Regions from separate parts of the Homo sapiens genome. Here region 2 is linked to region 1. The links are contacts of gene promoters, found by promoter capture Hi-C in human tissues and cell types (Jung and others, 2019). All regions are on one chromosome and are shown on one strand. The core of a region is centred on a gene start or on the middle of the fragment in contact, and the rest is flanking DNA. Distances in the headings are between cores, read along the strand shown.

Region 1 (4,230 bases), core at 582-3,081:
TATGTGTATATATATAAAACTAATATGTGTGTGTGGACACACACACATACACACACACCAAATAATAACCAAACTGTTAGCCATGCTTATTTGGGGAGGGGGGGGCACAGTTTATTGTTTTAATTCTTTGCAATGAGCATATATTGTTAGAAGAAGCAGCTGAGATTTTTTAGAGGATTTTCTTTAAATTTCTCTCCAATAATGCTGGACCTGTTTCCATCCACCTGGGCAAACCGCCCTTGGACCAGCAACCAAGGCATCTCCTAGGAATTTGGAAATTCGGACTCTTAAGACCCACTCCACCCCTATCGAGTCAGAATCTGCATTTTAACAACATCCATAGGTGATTGTAACCACATTCAAATCTGAGAAGCTCTAGGTAAGAACAGATCCTTTCCTCTCTCTGGGCTTCAGTTTCTCCCCGGCACAAAGGGGCTGTGTCTCTATGGTCCCTCCCAATTGCAGTTTTCTAATCTCGTTTCTTGTAGTTATCTGAGTCCCTATAAAAAGGCAGCTGAAGCTAGGAAAGGTGGCTTACCTCTGTAATTCCAGCTATTTGAGACGCTGAAGTGGGAGGCTCGCTTGAGCCCAGTAGTTGGCAGCTACAGTGAGCTATGATTGCAGCACTGCACTCCAGCCAAGGTGACAGAGGCAGACCCTGTTAAAAAAAGAAAGAGAGAAATAGAGGAAAGAAAGAAAGAAAAAGAAAGAAAGAAAGAAAGAAAGGAAGAAAGAAAAAGGAGGGAGGGAGGGAGGAAGGAAGGAAGGGAGAGAGAGAAAGAAGAAAGAGGGAGGAAGGAAGGAAGGAAGGCAAGCAAGCAAGAAAGAGAAAGGAAGGAAGGAAGGAAGGAAGGAAGGAAGGAAGGAAGGAAGGAAGGAAGGAAGGTGGGCGGGCGGGAAGGCAGGCAGGCAGGCAAGGAAGGAAGGAGGAAAGAAAGGAAAGAAAGAGAGAAAGAGAAAGAAGGACAGGCCAGGCGCGGTGGCTCACACCTGTAATCCCAGCACTTTGGGAGGCCAAGACGCGTGGATCACCTGAGGTCAGTAGTTTGAGACCAGCCTGGCCAACATGGTGAAACCGCGTCTCTACTAAAAACACAAAAATTAATCCGGGCATGGTGGCGCGCGCCTGTAACCCCAGCTACTTGGGAGGCTGAGGCAGGAGAATTGCTTGAACCCGGGAGGCGGAGGTTGTAGTGAGCTGAGATAGCGTCATTGCACTCCAGACTGGGCGACAGAGCGAGACTCCGTCAAAAAAAAAAAAAAAGAAGGAAAGAGGAAAAGAAAGAAGAAGGAAGGAGGAAATAACGAAAGAAAGAGAAAGAAGCAGCTGAAAAGGTCAAAGGATGAGTGGCCTGGCTGAACAGCCCCTGCTGCCTACAGCCGGACGCTGGTGGGCACTGAAGCTGCAGGTCTGGAGGGAGTCCGAGGAGCGAGGCTGCGTGGGATTACTGCTGGTGCTAGGGCAGGCACCTGCCATCTGGACGGGAGTGGAAGGAAGTCGCGGGGCAGTAATAGGGGGCAGCAGGCGCTTTGAGGCGCCTTGGGGTAAGTGCCGCAGAGACCCAGCGGGAATGCAGGATGGCAGGGCGGCCTCGGGGCGGCAGCAGGCACTGCGCGGTGGCCCAGGAAGACGCAGCGCGGCCGGGCTGGGGCGCAGGGCGGCTTCGGGGCGCCAGGGGGCGTTGTGAAGTCGTGGCCCGCTCCGGGCGGTCTCAGGTGCCTGGCGGCCTGGGGAAAGCACCTGGGCAGGTGGGGGCGGGGCCTGGGGAGGCGGGTCCCTAGGGGGCGGGGCCTGGCCGGCCCACAAGAGCCCGCGGTGGCGCTGCCAGGGGATGCTAGCCCGAGAGCGAGCAGAGGAGCAGCGCACCCGCACGAGCCTTGGACCCTTTGGAACCGAAAGGTGAGTTCAGCCGGGTTGGGTCGGACCAGCTCGGGGGTTCTGGGCACTGGAGCGGATGCCGGGCGCCAGGGCGTCGGACGCCGTCAGCGCGGTGGGTGGCCGAGCCAGCATCAGCCGGTGGCGGCTTCCCGGTGCCCGGGATGCTGGGACACCTTGCCCGGGCGGTAGCGGCCAGCTCTCCCGGGTCTACCCACGCCGTGGCCCGGAGCACGAAGCCAGTCGAGAGCCACTCAGAGTCCGGGGGTCTGGGGGTCCCGGGCCACACCTGGCCTCTTTTCTCCGCCCAGCGCCTGTTCAGCCCCCTTCCCTGCCGGGGTGAGTCGCGTGGACCTGTCCGCTACTGTTCCTTCTACCCTCTGGAATGCTTTCTCCGGGGTGACTTGGTGCAGAAAGAAGCAAACACTTGAAGTGGGCTGGTTGGATTCGCTCCAGCGCCTTCAGCCGGCGCTCCCCCGGGGCAGACGTGGCTTCCGCCACAGGACAGCGCCCGCTCGCTCCGCGCAGGGAGGGCAGGGCTGCGGGGTCGCTCGGCAGGAGCTCGGGTCAGGGCCCTGAGGTTGAGTTCAAGTGATTTCTGCACAGGACTCGCCCTTCGGGACGGGCACTGATCGGGAACTCTCCGGTCCAGCGAACCCAACGCTAGACTTGGGGCAAATCTCTCATCCCTCTCCAAGCTTTGGGGTCCTGCACTGTGGGATGGGGGACAGGCAAAGTCGGTGGTAGGTGAGGAGGGGGTGCACGGAGCCGCTGCGATGAGCCAGGGCCCTGGAATTCTAAAGAATCCTTCAAATCCTTTCTACCTGTGTGGTCTTGGGCAAATTACCTAACCTCTGTGCCTCAGTTTCCTTCTCTGTGAAATGGGCCAAGTAATAGCACCTCATATAACTGTAGTGAGGATTAAATCAGGTAGTGTGTGAAAAGGACTGAGTGGGATGCCTGGGAGTACAGAAAGGGATCAATAAGTGATAGCTGCCATTATTGCTGCTTTCCCTGCTGCTGTTATTATTATTAATGATTGAAGAGCAGCCTAGTTAGTCGTTAAAGGGACTCCTAGGTGCAAATCCCAGCTCAGCCACTTTCTAGTGTGACCTTGGGCAAGCTACTTAACCTGTCAGCGTCTGTTTCATTTGTACAATGGAGGTGGTTGTGATACCTACCTCAGACGATTATCGTGAAAATTAAATGAGGTGACAGCTGCAAAGTACTTAGAAGAGTAAGTGCTGGGTATCAGCTAGTAATTCTTCCACCAAGGGTATCACATTGGCTCAGGCTGCATAATCTAATGGTAGCTACAGTCTTGTTTTGCTTTGAAGTTGAAATATTATTTATATGAATATTTTATCTGTTTTGCAAAGAGCAAGATCAGTTCCCTTCCTTCACTTGGGGGCTCCTCTGACATTGTCGACTGATCCATTGGGGTCAAGGTCGGTTCTGGGGAAGGGGCTGATGGGGCAGAGGTACCCCTGAGAGCTGGGGATAGGAGCTTCCAGAATCACAGCTTCTGTTGAACATTCACAGAGGAGGGCTGCAGTTTTATTTGACAAGCAATTGAACCTGGACCTAGATTTTAAAAACAAACTCTCGCTAATTTTTTTCTTTCTTTCCTTCTTCTTTATTTCATTTTTTATTTTTTTGGATTGTAGTGAGGGAGGAGGTAAGGATAGGCAATATTTTAAGTGATAAAAAAATAAATTATATTCCTCTTGCCCAGAGGCTACTAGCATCATTTTGATGGTGTTCTTCATCCCAGCAAAATCATATCAATCTATGGAGGGTTTAGAGCAGTTTGTCTGCTCTGGACATCTCACCTCCATGCCCAGCACTCCATTTCCTTTCCATCTGAGGCCTTAAACCCACTAGCATCATAAGCTTGGAAGCCTCCTAGCTTTGCCCCAGCTTCCAATTTTAGCCCATATTTCATGGGTTCAGGGTGGGAAAAAAAGACATAACTCTGCAGGTTCCGAATACTGCCTAAAAATCTTGATGGGGCACATCGAAGTCACAGACATGGGTCCTCTCTGGTCCTGGGGACCACCCTGTATGCCCTAGGATATGTCCTAATTTGCCTTTGTCACTGTAGAAGGCATAGGACGACACAGTTTTCATATATCCCCCACCCCCAATACTAGTGCTCACAAGTCTTGGGAAGTGGTCATGTGCACTGTTCAGAGTTTGGAAATTAAATAGCTGTGTTCCTTCTCTTTCCTCCTACCTTTAGTTCTTGGTATTGTTAATTAACTCCCTGCACCCAGCGTACTACCAGGCCCCTCAAAGGCGTATGCCATAGCGGTGAAGGCTGCAGGGTTCCATCCAGCTCCTCCACTAACCAG
Region 2 (4,230 bases), core at 541-3,040, 360 kb after region 1:
GTGTGTAGTTCCACCCACTTGGGAGACTGAAGCAGGATTGCTTGAGCCCAGGAAGTCAAGGCTGTGGTGAGTCATGATTGCATCGCTCCAGCCTGGGTGACACAGCAAGACCCTGTCTGGAAAAAAAAGTCCTAAGGGAAGCTAACTGTCAGCTTTATTAAGAAGGATTGCTTTGTACCTACCACCTAATGTAAAATAAAACCAAGTAATACATTCTCAACAGTTATGGCCCCCCTCCTTTTTTTTTTTTTTTTTTTTTTGAGACAGGGTCTCATTCTGTCTCCCAGGCTGGAGTGCAGTGGCACAATCTCAGCTCACTGCAACCTCCATCTCCCTAGTTCAGCTGATTCTCCTGCCTCAGCCTCCTAAGTAGCTGAGATTATGGGCACACACCACCAAGCCCAGCTAATTTTTGTACTTTAATATAGATAGGGTTTCACCACGTTGCCCAGGCTGCAGTTGTGTCCTTTTTTTGCTCATAAGAGCTAGTACTGTTTAAGGCCCAAAGTAATAGTTTTTACAGATCTTTTAGTTTCAACTAAGCTTTTACAATAGAAAGGACTTGTATTGCATTGAGTTTATAAACTTTTGGTTTGTGAAATCCATACTTGATCTGTTCTTTTCCAACCAAATGTCTAGGCTTGACTTTTCCACCCCAATGACATTTCACTTTATTAAATATTAGCAGATATACTTTGATAACCAACACAGCTTGTATGAAAACTGAGCAAGTGTCCATCATGACCCATAGGGTTCTGGGTAGTTGTTACCTTACTGTTTAGTCCACAAAAAATAACGACTTAGATAAGCTGTCTGATTTGCTTTCGCTTATTAAACACGTTCACCATGAGATGATGTGTGTAACATCAGATACCGTTAAATTAGACTAGGATTTAATACAAATCCTGAAAGCTTAAAATAAATAAATAAATAAATGGCTGCAAGGATTCCACAACAGGGCATGACTATAATTTAACAAAAAAAAAAAATCTGTTGGCCAGGCATGGTGGCTCATGCCTATAATCCCAGCACTTTGGGAAGCTGAGGTGGGAAGATCGCTTGAGTTTCATACCAGCCTGGGCAAAATAGGGGAATTCCATCTCTACAAAAATTTAAAAACTAGCTGTGTGCCAGCCGGGCATGATGGCTCACACCTATAATCCCAGCACTTTGGGAGGCTGAGGTGGGTGGATCTCCTATGCTCAGGAGTTTGAGACCAGCCTAGGCAACACGGAGAAACCCCGTCTCTACCAAAAAATACAAAAAAAATTTGCCGGGCATGGCGGCACACACCTGTGGTTCCAGCTGTTTGGGAGGCTGAGATGAGAGGACTGCTTGAGCCCAGGAGGCAGAAGTTGCCTTGAGCCAATATCACACCACTGCACTCCAATCTGGGTGACAGAGTGAGACCCCATCTCAAAACAAAACAAAACATAACACTCTGTGTGTGGTGGTACATGGCTGTGGTCACAGCTACTTGAGAGGCTGAGGATGTAGGATTGCTTGAACCCAGGAGATTCAAGGCTGCAATGAGCTGTGATCATGCTACTGCACTCCAGCCTGGGTCACAGAATGAGATGAGAAAAAAAATATTCTGTCAAGAGACAAATACATTGTTTATAATAAAAAGGCAATGTCACCGTAAACGTCATGACCTTGGCCAAACAGCTGAGCCCTTGACCAAATAGTTCACTGGAACTGCAATGTAAATGTTACAATGCTATTGCAGATGGGAGTGTAAACAAGTAAAGGGCCAGCCACTTGGCAGTATCCATCAAAGCTACAACTCGACTCTGCAATTCCACCTCTAGGAAGGTATTCAGCAAACATACTGCACAAGTGCAAAATGACATATGTCAACATTAGTCATCACAGCTCTCTTCTTTTATAACCAAATATTAGAAATAACATAAAGGTTTGGGCTGAGCGCAGTGGCTCATGCCAGTAGTCCTAGCACTTTGGGAGGCCGAGGCAGGTGGATTGCCTGAGCTCGTCCTAGCACTTTGGGAGGCCGAGGCAGGTGGATTGCCTGAGCTCAAGAGTTCAAGACCAGCCTGGGTAACACGGTGAAACCCCGTCTCTACTAAAATATAAAAGAAAATTAAATTAGCCAAGTGTGGTGGCATGCACCTCTAGTCCCAGCTCCTCAGGAGGCTGAGACAGGAGAATTGCTTGTATCCAGGAAGTGGAGGTTGCAGTGAGCCAAGATCACACCACTGCACACCAGCCTGGGCAACAGAGCAAGACTCCGTCTCCAAAAAATAAATAAATAAATAAATAACATAAAGGTTTATTAAGGCCGAGTGTCGTAGCTCATGCCTGTAATCCCAGCACTTTGGGAGGCCACTTGAGGATCACTTGGGCAGATCACTTGAGGTCAGGAGTTTGAGACCAGCCTGACCAACATGGTGAAACCCCATCTCTACCAAAAAAATACAAAAATTAGCAGGGTGTGGTGGCGGGCACCTGTAATCCCAGCTACTCGGGAGGCTGAGGCCAGAGAATCACTTGAACCTGGGAGATGGAGATTGCAGTGAGCCAAGATCTTGCCACTGCACTCCAGCCTGGGGAATAGAGCAAGACTCCATTTCTAAAATAACACAACATAACATAAAACAAAACAAAACAAAACAAAAATAAATGTTTGTTAAGACGAAACTGATTAAGTAAATGAAGTTATATCCACAAATGGAATATTATGCATTATTATGGACTGATATCTGATCCTCAAGATGGTAAGCGGACATGGTAAATTGCACCACATAGCATGTACATAGTACATTGCATGCTACCATGTGAATAAGGAAAAAGAGAAAATAATATGTACTTATAGGTATATGTACTGAATGTCTCTGGAGGAGACATAAGAAAATTTTAACACTGGTTATCTCTGGAGAGCAGAATTGAGTGGCCAGAGTCAAGATTGGAAGAGAGTTCTTTCAATATATATCTTTGTGGATCTTCTTTTTTTTTTTTTTGAGACAGTCTCCCTCTGTCACCCAGGCTGGAGTACAATGGCACAATCTCAGCTCACTGCAACCTCCACCTTCTGGGTTCATGCGATTCTAGTGCCTCAACCTCCCAGGTAGCTAGGATTACAGGCGTGCACCACCAAGCTCAGCTAATTTTTTTTTTTTTTTGGAGATGGAGTCTTGCTCTGTTGCCCAGGCTGGAGTACAATGGCATGATCTCAGCTCACTGCAACCTTCGCCTCCCAGGTTCAAATTATTCTCCCGCCTCAGCCTCCCAAGTAGCTGGGATTATAGGCACCCGCCATCATGCCCAGCTAATTTTTGTATTTTTGTAGAGATGGGGTTTCACCATATTGGCCAGGCTGGTCTTGAACTCCTGACCTCAGGTGATCTGCCCACCTCGGCTTCCCAACGTACGGGGATTACAGGCATGAGCCACCACTCCAGGCCTAATTTTTGTATTTTTAGTAAAGATGGGGTTTCACCATGTTGGCCAGGCTGGTCTCGAACTTCTGACCTCAAGTGATCTGCCCACCTCCGCCCTCCCAAAGTGCTGGAATTACAGACGTGAGCCACCATACTTGGCCCTTTGTGGACCTTTCATTTTTCTTTTTTTTTTTTTTTTTTTTTGAGACAGTGTCGCTCTATCGCCCAGGCTGGAGTGCAGTGGTGCAGTCTTGGCTCACTGCAACCTCCACTTCCTGGGTTCAAATGATTCTCCTGCCTCAGCCTCCCGAGCAGCTGGGACTACATGCGCACCACCACGCCCAGCTAATTTTTGTATTTTTAGCAGAGACGGGGTTTCACCACATTGGCCAGGCTGGTCCTGAACTCTTGACCTCGTGATCCACCCACCTCAGCCTCCCAAAGTGCTGGGATTACAGGCGTGAGCCACCACGTCCGGCCTGTGGACCTTGCTCATTAAAAATAACAAATAATTAAAATTACTTTACACATTACTTTCTGAGACCAAATCTTGGCTTCTAACATAGCCCCAGTCATTCTCGCCTTCTGGTGTTTCTGTCCTTGTGTAGTCCCCTCCCCTTGAGTGTGGGCTGGGCCTAGTGACTTTTGTCTAATGAACAAAAATAATGCCAAATATGCCTAATCTGAAATGCTCCAATGGTCCAGGTGCAGTGGTTCACGCCTGTAATCCCAGCACTTTGGGAGGCTGAGGTGGGAAGATTGTTCGAGTTCAGGAGTTTGAGAACAGCCTGGGCAACATGGCGAAACCCTCTCTCTATTAAAAACACAAAAA

What was found. The method cuts DNA at HindIII sites, captures the fragments that hold promoters and counts their contacts. A contact is called where the count stands out against the background at its distance.
Region 2: a fragment that was not itself captured here is called in contact with the fragment with the promoter of SCNN1G in region 1 in 1 of the 25 tissues and cell types used here (lymphoblastoid cells).

The regions. Positions count from the first base shown.
Region 1 is chr16:23,180,914-23,185,143 of GRCh38, forward strand. It overlaps SCNN1G (sodium channel epithelial 1 subunit gamma), which reads left to right and starts at 1,832. Exons shown (of 13, transcript NM_001039.4): 1 at 1,832-1,900. RefSeq lists a silencer at 1,554-1,803. The HindIII fragment of the contact is 8,387 bases long and covers 1-3,171 here.
Region 2 is chr16:23,538,736-23,542,965 of GRCh38, forward strand. All of the region lies in intron 3 of EARS2 (glutamyl-tRNA synthetase 2, mitochondrial), which reads right to left. Among named protein-coding and RNA genes, the nearest start is that of EARS2, 16 kb to the right of the region's middle. RefSeq lists enhancers at 1-272, 1-167. The HindIII fragment of the contact is 8,042 bases long and covers 1-4,230 here.